Linked DNA regions of Homo sapiens: region 1 is linked to region 2. The links are contacts of gene promoters, found by promoter capture Hi-C in human tissues and cell types (Jung and others, 2019). All regions are on one chromosome and are shown on one strand. Each heading gives the region's core, a stretch centred on a gene start or on the middle of the fragment in contact. The rest is flanking DNA. Distances are from core to core; before and after follow the strand shown. Region 1 overlaps LOC105372988 (a long non-coding RNA gene). Region 2 holds the start of SF3A1 (splicing factor 3a subunit 1).

Region 1 (5,652 bases), core at 3,072-5,571, 170 kb before region 2:
GTTGTCAAAATTTTGAGATGGGCTACCTTGTGAGTTAGTGAGCTTGTCTTCACTGCAGGTATTTGAACACAGAGGAGCTTCACAAAAACTCTATAAAGACTCTCAAAGCAAATTAGCACTACTGAGTAATTAGTTAATCTGGATTTCAAAAGGAACTATTTTGCTTCAAGGGGAATTGAGCTCATAATCTGTATTTGTGATAGTCATAAACTTAGCCTAAGGCTGACAGATCCTTTAAGTCAAAGTCTCAAATCTGAATCTATCTAGAAAATTTCTATAGTGATTTTATTATCTCTATTAACACCTCTTTCCCCATCTGAACAGTCTTTATCACTGCCAGTAGGTGGACTGTGTGTTTCTGAGGCAGTGTGTATGTGAGACAACAGAGAAGTTTCTGGGCCTGTGCCCTTGGCTGGGCACACACGGAAGGAGATCTGTTACCAAGGGAATCTGAGAACTGTGAAAATGTGAACTATCTGATTTTACACAGCAGAGCTCAAATATGCAACCAGCTATCAATATTGGAGTGTATTCAGTTCTATCTACTGAATGATTTATTAGAAGGAAAGAAATCTTTTCTCTATTCATTTTGGTTCTTAATTGTAATGGGATGAATAAACACAAGTGCATCAAGGAGCTGACACTTTAGTGAAAAGAATGAAAACAGGCCCCATGCTGGGATGCCTGAGCTGTTCTAGACCAGCCATTCCCTCACTCTGACTGTGCTTGGTTCATCAGTGTGATCACAAAGATTAGATGATGATAGTTGGAAACTGAGACATTATTAAATAAAAAGTTATGTAGGGGAAATTTGAATTTGGCTGTTTGGGGTTTTTCTGTCTTTACAGAAATTTGGTCTAGCTGGAAAGACATGGGTTAGGTTCATGATTGCCGCCAGCCTTTGAAGCCAGGCACCGAAACCACACCTTCATTTCCCCTCTTGCAGGTCCCTCTGCTGTCTGGGTCCTTTCATTCTCCAGCTCACCTCTTCCAGGAAGAGGCTGGAAATGTTCATCAGTATCAAAGTTGCATTCACATGAGTTCAGAGTTGTGTGTGTGTTCTTAAAATTCCACTAACCATTAGAGCCAACTTTAATGTATCTTAAAATTGTCAATTTATGGTTTCAAACCCAACAGTATTGGATATTTAGGGACTTCCACAAAATATTATAATAAAATAATTCTCAGTTATAATCATCATCATTTAGAAAGAGGTCCCAAATAATAAAATGAAACTGAACACACTATGCATGTAAGAGTTAAGTCAAGGTCTGCTACAATGTAGGATTCTAGATTCTGTACAAGCGAGAAAATGCCTAAATGTATCCCCTTTAGACATTTTTAGTTTGTTTAAAGGAAAAAAAGGTAATATTTTCAGTGTGACTGTGTGATTTGTGTACTGAGGTCATGGCTGAGACTTGATACATAATTTCCAGTTTTGATAGAGAAGGAGGACACCCTTGTCTTAGTTAAAAAGAAAAAAGCTTTTATTAATGGGCCCTTGGGTTATCCATTGGTAAAGTCAAATTCCTATTTAGAAATGGCAAGACTTGAGGTCCTAAGGAGCTAATCTGCTCATATAATATCCCCTTGGGTGCACAATATCTCTGCAATTAGAGTTTTGCCGTCTGGGAGGAGCAAACTCAGTCTTACAGTAGGTGGTGGCTCACAGGTACCACTGGCTATGTGTAAACTATTCCTTTGCAACCTGGCTGGAAGTTGCACATGAGATTTGCTCAATAGAGGATGTTGAGAAAGGGATTGGCCAGCGTTTCTGGTAATAGGCTGATTTACTCAGCTTCAGGGCTTTTTCCTGTGTTATAATTCCATCATGTTATCCCAGATCCTTTAGTAGTAAAGTAGTAAAGTCTCATTAAACTTTTATTTTATTTTATTTTGAGATGGTCTCACTCTGTCACCCAGGCTGGAGTATAGTGGTGCAATCATGGCTCACTACAGCCTTGACCTCCCAGGTTCAAGTGATCCTCCCACCTCAGCCTCCCAAGTAGCTAGAACTACAGGTACATGCCACCATGCCCAGATAATTTTTGTATTTTTTAGTAGAGATGAGGTTTTGCCATGTTGCCCAGGCTGGTCTCAAACTCCTGGGCTCAAACAATTTGCCCGCCTCAGCCTCCCAGAGTGCTGGGATTACAGATGTGAGCCAGCATGCCCAGGCTCATTAAACATTTTAGTCTGGACTTACCTGTGCCATGAGGTTCAGCAGTGCATGGGTTTTTCCATGGCAGGAGTGGAGAGGCAGGCTGCTTGAGATAGCCAGAAACATCTATGGGGCACTAGTGGAGCATTCCTTGGGGTCTCAGACACTTAGAAACCTGGTATAAGAGTGGATTTTAAGGGGTTGTTGTTTGGGTATTTCAGGACTCCTGAAGGCTGGTGAAGTCTGGAGCATCTAGGTTCCATATGGGTAATTACTAATTGGCTCTAGGGTAAGCAAGCAAAGTTAGTTTTTCATCTTCCTTTTAGCAAGGTAGTGAAGAAAAAGCCTAGGCTGCTAGATTCAAAACCTCTCATTTTCTAGATAAGATATTTCATCTCTCTAGCCCCCAGTTTATTCGATCTATAAAATCTGAATAATAATTACACCTATTTCATACTTTTGTGAGATTTAAGCAAGCGGATTCAAGTAAACTGCCCTGCACACATATAGTCACTACTCATCGTGATGGCTGCTTTTTAACTCTTAGCGTGTCCACTTTGTCTCCAGGAACTTAGGATTCCTTCTTTCTTCCCCTTCCCTTCCCTTCCTTTCCCTTCCCTTCCCTTTTTCTCTTCCCTTCTTCCCTTCCTTTCCCCCCTTCCCTTCTTCCCTTCTCTTCCCTTCTTCCCTTCCCTTCTTCCCTTCCCTTTCCCTTTCCCTTCCTTCCCTTTCCCTTTCCCTTTCCCTTCCCTCTCCTCTCCTCTCCTCTCCTCTCCTCTCCTCTCCTCTCCTCTCCTCTCCTCTCCTCTCCTCCCCTCTCCTCCCCTAACCTACCCTACCCTACCCTACCCTCCCTCCCTCTCTTCTCTTCTCTTTTTGACAAGGTTTCATTCTATCACCCAGGCTGGAGTGCAGTGGAGCCTCAACTTCCCAGGCTCAAGCAATTCTCCCACCTCAGCCTCCTCCTAAGTAGCTGGGACTACACACATGTGCTACTATGCTTGGCTAATTTTTGTGTTTTTTGTAGAGACGGGGTTTTGCCACGTTGCCCAGGCTGGTCTTGAACTCCTGGGCTCAAGCTATCTGCCCACCAAAAGTGCTGGGATTACAGGTGTGAGCCACTGCACCTGGCCTCAGGAGTTTGGATTTCTATGCTGCTTTTTGCCTACCCAGAGCTCCTACATCAACAGCCTGTGCAAGCCTGGGGCCAGCACTTGAACCATGCTTCCAATTGCCTCTGTTCTCAGAACCCTCCCCACTCCTTTCCCTAAATCGAAACTCCCTTTCCATCAAGATAGTTCAATGGGAGAGAAGCATCAGACGAAGCTTAATATGCTGCCCTCCCACATTTGCATTTTAAAACAGAAGCTTGTTAATTAGAAAAATGAATCTCACCTAGGGATTGTGATATGAGAACAGACTGAATAAACAAGGAAGAAGAAAGTTTAAAGGGAACTTTGTAGCTGTCTTTAAATTTATGAAAGTCTGTCATAAAATGCAGGTAACCACAGACACATTCTGTGTTGTTCCAAAGCGTAGAACATAGACCCAATGGGAGGACATCCCAGGGATGCGGATTTGGCCTCAACCTATTAAAGAATTTTCCCCCAATGCTCTAGCAAATTGCCTGGCACATGGAAGGCAATCAACATTTGACTGTTTTTGATAGCAATGAAAACTGTCAGATGGTGACTGCTTCTGGCTGTAATGAGTTCCTTATCACCGGAAGTGTTCAAGACTAGTTGTGCAAGATGTCCATTCGGATAAGAATTGAACCAACTGAATACTGTAGTCTCTTCTAGCTATAAAACTCAGTGACACTTCTATAAATAGTTGAATTTCAATGGAGATTTTAGAGCAAAGGAACATTTTATCAATCCTTTTTCCAAAAGGCAGCAAAGTGGTTAAAACTGAGGGTTCTGGAGTTAGACGTTATCTGGGTTCAAACCCTGGTCACCCTACTTACTAGCTGTATGACTCTGTTCGACAATTTTAATGTTTTACTTGCTATCTCTGTACATCAGCTTCCTTATCTGTGAAATGGGGGCAATAGTAGTGTCTTTCTCACAGAGCTATTGTGAGAGCTCAATGAGTTAATACAGGAAAAGCACTTAGAAGAATAGCTGGCACATAGAAAGTTAATGTTCAATAAACATTAGTTATGAGGTATCATCTGATACCCTTGCCACTTCTACAGCTTTTTACGTCTTTTCAGTATGTGGAGGGAGGTCCTTTGTAGCATAATTGACCCTGACCTTGTTTTTTCCTAAATCAGATGCCAGCCATGGCCACTGTGATTAACCAGTGGACTTTCTATCTCCTAAAAGCAAGCTTTAAAGCTAAACAAGCGACAGGGCTGGTGACGTGCAGTTTATGAAGGATCTGCCAATGAAACACAATCATGGCTGTGGACACCCTAACCCTGCTATGTGCCTGACAAGTGATAGATAACCAGTAAATATTTGTTGAATGAGCTGGGTGCAGTGGTGTGTGTCTGTTGTCCCAGCTACTCAGGAGGCTGAGGCGGGAGGATTGCTTGAGCCCAAGAGTTTGAGACCAGCCTGGGTAACACAGCAAGATTCCATCTTTAAAAAATAAACAAATAAACAAAAATAAAATATGTGTTGAATGAATAGATTAACTCGGTAGGGTTTTATTATTTTTATTTATTTATTTTTGATCAGGTAATACATTCACATGATTTAAAATTCAAAAGGAACAAAAGGATATATAAAGAAAAACCTCCCTCCCACCCAGTCCCTCAGCCATCCAGTTTCCTTCCCCATAGGGAACTAACATAAACGCTTTCTCATATGTCTTTCCAGAGCTATTTTAGGCATAAACAAGCAAACATACTTGCTTACGCACATTTATTTCTTTCCCTCCCTTTTAAACAAATGGCTCATATACTGTTCTAGGCATGATTATTGAAGTAGCCCCAGAAATGGGAGTGAGCATGGGTACGCCAAGGAGGAATTAAAAAAGAAAGAGCTCAGGGACAGAAAAATCAACCAGGAGACTATTGCATTAATACAGATGTAAGGCGATTAGAGCCTGGACTAGTATATTAAATGGGATAATCAGGGAAACAATTGTTTGAATGTTTTTTAACTTACACTGGGGTAACCACTATATAGAGTATTTCTGTCACCCCAGAAGTTCCCTTGTGTCCCTTTGCCGCCAGCCCACCCTCCCCAGGCCCAGGCACCAACTCCTCTGCTTTGTCAGAGTTTTTCAGCTTTCGTGTTACAGGCCTGCATGCCCGTGGTGGGACCTCCACTCAGCAGAGTTAATCACAATACCAGTCAACATCAGTGGCACTTACTCCAGGCCAGACACTCCATTAAGCACCTACATGTGCTCATTCATTTAATCCTCTTCACCAACTGAAGCAGGTACTGCTTTTATCTCAATTTCTGATAAGATATCTAAGATACAGAGAAGTTAAATCACTTGATGAAGGTCACACAGTTAGTACATAGCAAAGTCAG
Region 2 (5,751 bases), core at 960-3,459:
CTCAGGAATAGCTACCCAGTCACCCATGCCAGAAAGTTGGGGGCTCCTCTCTCTTCCTCAGCTTCCACACTCGATGATAATAACGTTTATCAAGTTGGGCACAATGGCTTGCACCTATAATCCCGGTGACTCAGGAGGCTGAGGTAGGAAGATTGCTTGAGCCCAAGAATTCAAGGCTGCAGTAAGCTATGACTGCACCACTGCATTCCAGCCTGGGTGACAGAACGACACCCGGTCTCTTAAAAAAAACTTTTATCAAGCTATGAGTAGATCCCAGGTATTTTTCCCAAGCACTTTAAATATATTAACTCTTATAACCTTTAGAAGAAGCCTATAAGATTAAGTACTCTTTTTTTTTTTGAGACAGTCTCTTGCTGTCGCCCAGGCTGGAGTGCAGCGGCATGATCTTGGCTCATTGCAACTTCTGCTTCCCAGGTTCAAGCAATTCTCTCCCGAATAGTGGGGATTACAAACATGCACCACCACACCTGGCTAATTTTTTATTTTTAGTAGAGACAGTTTTGCTATGTTGGCCAGGCTGGTCTCAAACTCCTGACCTCAAGTGATCTGTCTGCCTCGGCCTCCCAAACTGCTGGAATTACAGGCGTGAGCCACTGGACCCGGCCAAGAACTCTTAATATCTCCACATTACAGATGACAAAACTGAGAGATGGAGAGCTTAATGTCCAACTGGCAGAACCAGGATTCTAACACACCACTCTGGCTGAAGAGCCTGCCTACCCCCTCTGCCCTAATCTCGGCCAGGCCTTCAGCCTCTTTGGAATAGCGTGACTGGCCTCCCCTCATAGTGATTCTCCACACGTCTGCCTACCTGAATTTCTGAAACACAAATGTCACTATTTGGCTTAAAACACTCCCTTTTCTTCCCACTGTCTACAAGGAAAAGTTCAAATCCTAAGTAAGAATCGCATCTCCTGCCACTACGCTCCTAAGTCTATGCTTCAACACTTGTTCATTTACTCTTGATCAGAGACACCGTTTGATTCACCTCGGTGTCTTTGCGCATATTATCTGGCTATTACCTTATTTTCCCCCAATGCCTGGGAAAATGCCAGGGACACACGGGCACTTAAATATTTGTGGAAAAGGCATGGCTTCTTCAGTCATGTTCCCCCCCCCCGCCCCCCTTATTCTGAACCCAAAGCAATGATCAGCGTATGTGTTCAATAAATATTTGCTGGATGAATAAAGGATGCTATTTCCCTTCCCTAGTCACCTACCTGGCAAACTCCTATTCCTTCTTCTAAAAGAAATTTACCTCTCACTCTTGTGGGCTTCCCTACCTTAATATCCCTTCTAGCCCAGCAAACAATGTTCATTAGATTTGTACCTGAAACTTCTATCACAGGGCATATCACACCATACTACAATGGTTTGTGCACATTCGAGATTGGAGAGCTTTATTAAGGGCGGGCTGGCACTGTATCATCGATGGCCATTGGGACAACAAACATTTGGTGAGCATTCTCATATGTCTGTCTTCTCGTTAGCCTGTGAGCTCCCTAGGCAGGGACCATGCCCCATTCATTCCGGTAATGTGGGAGCCTGGCACGGTGTCTGGCTTGGGGCAGACACCGAAATAGATGCTGAGAATTAACATCCAAAGATGTACCGTGCAGGCTGGGAAATTAGCCATTACTGGGGAAAGGCTGTGGCCGGCGGCCCCAACTGCTACATAAGATCAGAGGATGGGCTGGATCAGCGCCTCTCGCACTTATAAATCAATCACCTTAGGATTTTGTTCAAATGTAGATTCCTATTTAAAAGATCTACGGCGGAGACTCCACATTTCTAAGAAGCTCCCGGCTCGTGCCGACGGGGCTGCTCCGCGGACCACTTAGAGAATCCCGTTCAGGGTGGCTCATTTCGCTACCAGAACACCACCATAGCGCGGGAAGCGCGCAGCCTCTTGGGACTTGCAGTCCCTCCAAGCCCTTCATAGCGGCCGGCCGCTTATTCCTGTGCGAGTAAGGAGCGCCCAGGCCAACCCTCCGGCTGCAGGCTGAGGGGCGGGGGAGAGGTACCTGTTTGGGCTCCGTGGGCACGGGCGGCGGCGGGGGCACCGCCTGCACGGGTCCGGCCGGCATGACTGCGACGCTCAGGGCTGCCAGTCCGCCTCGGTGTCGGTGAGCGGTGCCGCCTCAAGACAGCCTCCCCGCTCGGTCAGTACGACGAGCTCGCAAGATGGCGGCGGCCGAGCGAGTTGCGGCCGCGAAGGTACGACTGGCGCACTTCCGGGACCGTCCCCTCGCCGTGACGCGCTTCCCGCCCCTCCCCGCGGGCACCGCGGCGTCCGACGCCGTTGCCAAGGCAGCGGCCTGAGCGCCCGGCTAGGGCTTTTCGGGGATCCCGGTGGCCGCAGGCGCACCGGGGGCAGTTCCGGGAGCCGACCAGACACGAAGGCTGAAGCCGCGACGCCGAAGACAGGTGAGATGTTGTACGTCACCCGCCGGACCCCCGCCGCACTCACCTCGCGGCTCCTTTACTCCACAGGCCAGTACCTCGCTCCCTTCGACCCCGCCTTCCAAGAGCCCAGCTCCCTCCCATTGGTCTCTCATTTAGGAGAGCCCCTGTCCCCTCAGGCTCACCGCCTAAGAGCCCCACTTCCCTACTCCCTTAGTCCCCCCTTTCATTTCAGACCCACATCCTCCAAGCCCCGCTTCCAAATCCTACGCCCTTAATTCGCTTTTCCCACGGAACCTGCCTTTTCTTGCTTCCATCCCCTGCCTTCCGTAGTCCCGCCCTCAAGCCCCACTGGGGGCCTCCCTCTCAAATCAAGGCTGCTGCTTTCTTTGTCTTTCTTTTTTCTTTTTTTCTGAGACAAGGTCTTGCTCTGTCACCCAGGCTGGAGTGCAGTGGCGCGATCTTGACTCTCTGCAACCTCCGCCTCCCGAGTTCAAGCGATTCTCCTGCCTCAGCCTCCCGAGTGGCTGGGACTACAGGCGCCCACCACACCCGGCTAATTTTTTTTTTTTTTTTTTTGGCATTTTTAGTAGAGACGGGGTTTCACCATGCTGGCCAGGCTGGTCTGGAACTCCTGACCTCAAATGATCCGCCCGCCTCGGCTTCCCAAAGTGTTAGGGTTACAGGCGTGAGCCACCGCGCCCGGCCAGTTTTTAAATTTTTTTTTTTGTAGGGACATGGGAGGACGTCTCCCTATGTTGCCCAGGCTGGTCTCAAACTCCTGGGGTCAAGCGATCCTCCCGCCTTGGCCTCCCAAAGTGCTGGGATTACACGCATGAGCCATCACGCAGGGCTGCTGCTTTAGGCTTCACCCCTCACTCTCACAGATGCAGCCCTGCAAGCTATGCGGCTCGCTCCCCAGAGGCCTACCTCGAATCCCGCCGGCTTCTCTCCCTCTCCTGCGATTCCCCCCTCTCTCCTTCCTCCTCTCCTCAACTCTGGAAAGCGGGGAGCTGGCTCCGAACCTGTTCCTGGACTTCAGTTTCCTCACCTGTGAAATGAGGGAGTGATAGGAAAGGTTGCTCTCTCAAGTCTTCCCCCTCCCCCCACACACATCGTAGCTGTGTGTCATGGTTGTTATTAATGTAGAATAATGATAGCTGGGATGTATTGGTCATTTACTATGAGCCGGATACTGTGCCCAACACTTCATGTGTTACGTCATTTATTCCTTATAGCAACCTATTTACAAATGAGGACAGTGAAGTTTGGAGTTGGTAGAGTGGGAATGCAAGTTCAAGCCAGTCTTATTCCTCTACTAGTGCAGTTAGTTATTTTGCCCTCAGTCCCTTCAGTATCCCCAGGGATCCAGGCAATTAACAATCTCATGTTTGAGACTGACATCTGCCACATAGCTGGTTTTAGAGTTTCCCGTGTTTTCATGGTGGTGGCTTTGAATCTCACCAGGCACCCTGGCTGGGAAGTAGGCATCATCTTTACCGAGTAGGGTTAGGGTACTAGTTCTGAGAGAGAGAAGGCGCTTGAATGTTGAACGGAAATGCAGGAAAGGCTCCTGCTCTTCTCTGGGAGTCAAAAGTCCACCTTGAGCCCCAGGAAATTGAGGAGAGGCAGAGATAGCTGCTGCTCCTCCCTAAGGGCTCAATTAGTGCTGTCACCTATGTGGTCATGGGTACAGTGCCGGGCTGGCAGCTTCAGACTGAGGGTTCCACTCAAGACCCAGGAATTGCAGAAAGAGCTCACGTCAAGTGCTTCTTCACTTGACACACACATAAAGTACTTCTTAAACTATGCTTGTATCTGCATGACTTCAATTTTCAGAAGAAACAACATAAGGTCATCTTGGATTTTCCTGACACTTGGGCATTTGCTGCTGCTTATCTGATCCAGGATCTACTGGGAGTTGATATCCAGGATGGCCCCATGTGGCAGCTATAGTTATTTGAAGGTGAACAGATCAGTGTTTCCTGGTGCCTTCACAAGCAAGCTTATGAATTCCAGATGCTTTGCCACCTGAATACACTTTCTCCCAGGTTGGGGGCTTCTTGATTTCTTTATTTCTTTCATGCCCATTCCAGGAAGGAAACCCAGAATACTTCCGTGTGTTATTTTGCCTTTGTTTCTGCCTCCCTCCTTGGAGACATAAAATCTCTTGGGCAGCAGTAGTTCATTGGCAGTTGCCAAGACAACAGGAGTGTAGGATGTGGGCATGTGTGTTGTGAGTATCATGGGGCAGACACGTATCCCTTGGGTGATATCCCATGGGTGAAACTGGCACACACAAGCTTACCCCTTGCGGAGACCCTCAGATATCACTGGTAGTTCCTGGAGGACAGGGCTCCTTGTGCCCTGCTGTGTTCCTGGTCTTGACGTAGTGCCTGGTATGGAACAGATACTCAGTCCTCATTTGCTGAATGCACACACAGCATCCAACCCTCTGCACCGTCCAATACAGTAGCTACCAGCCAACACAGATTTTGAACATTTGAAATGGTTTCTGGTCCAAATGGCCATGTGTTGTCAAACAGGCATTAGATTTTGAGACTTAATACCATAAAAATGTTAAAAATCTCCTTAATAATTTTATATTGATATGTTGAAATGATAATGTTTTGGGTATATTGGGTTAAATAAAATATGCTGTTAAAATTAAAGTTAATTGACCTTTATTTTTACTCTTTTTAATGTGTAGGGGAGAAAAAGTAATATATTTTCCTCACTCATTGCAAGTTTAATAAAAGATTAAGGTGTCTCACGCCTATAATCCCAGCACTTTGAGAGGACAAGACGAAAAGATTGCTTGAGGCCAAGAGGCCAGGACCAGCCTGGGCAACATAGCAAGTCTCTGTCTTTACAAAAAACAAAAAAATTAGCCAGGTGCGGTGGCACCCACCTGTAGTCCTACCTACTCAGGAGGCTGAGGGGGAGGATCACTTGAGCCCAGGAGTTAAAGGTTACAATGAGCTATGACAGCACCACTGCACTGCAGCCTGAGCAACAGAGTGAGACCCTGTCTCTAAAAAATAAATAAATGAAATAAAATTTTAAAAACAGATTAACAAGAGAAAAGCATACAAATTTAATAAAAGTTTACCTGCCGGGCGCGGTGGCTCACGCCTGTAATCCCAGCACTTTGGGAGGCTGAGGCGGGCAGATCACAAGGTCAGGAGATTGAGACCATCCTGGCTAACATGGTGAAACCCCATCTCTACTAAAAAATACAAAAAAATTAGCTGGGTGTTGTGGCGGGCGCCTGTAGTCCCAGCTACTCTGGAGGCTGAGGCAGGAGAATGGCGTGAACCCAGGAGG

The links. Contacts are between HindIII fragments. The study calls those that stand out against the background at their distance.
Region 1: a contact is called between a fragment that was not itself captured here and the fragment with the promoter of SF3A1 in region 2, in 1 of the 25 tissues and cell types used here (spleen).

Annotation. Positions count from the first base shown.
Region 1 is chr22:30,178,011-30,183,662 of GRCh38, forward strand. It overlaps LOC105372988 (a long non-coding RNA gene), which reads right to left. Exons shown (of 3, transcript NR_188588.1): 3 at 4,808-5,652. It also overlaps a transcript of HORMAD2 not described here. Among named protein-coding and RNA genes, the nearest start is that of LIF-AS1, 58 kb to the right of the region's middle. The HindIII fragment of the contact is 3,672 bases long and covers 2,486-5,652 here.
Region 2 is chr22:30,354,685-30,360,435 of GRCh38, forward strand. SF3A1 (splicing factor 3a subunit 1) reads right to left here and starts at 2,210. Exons shown (of 16, transcript NM_005877.6): 1 at 2,046-2,210. The coding sequence starts at 2,108. CCDC157 (coiled-coil domain containing 157) reads left to right here and starts at 2,323. Exons shown (of 12, transcript NM_001017437.5): 1 at 2,323-2,448. RefSeq lists a silencer at 1,907-2,156 and an enhancer at 3,092-3,691. The HindIII fragment of the contact is 21,616 bases long and covers 1-5,751 here.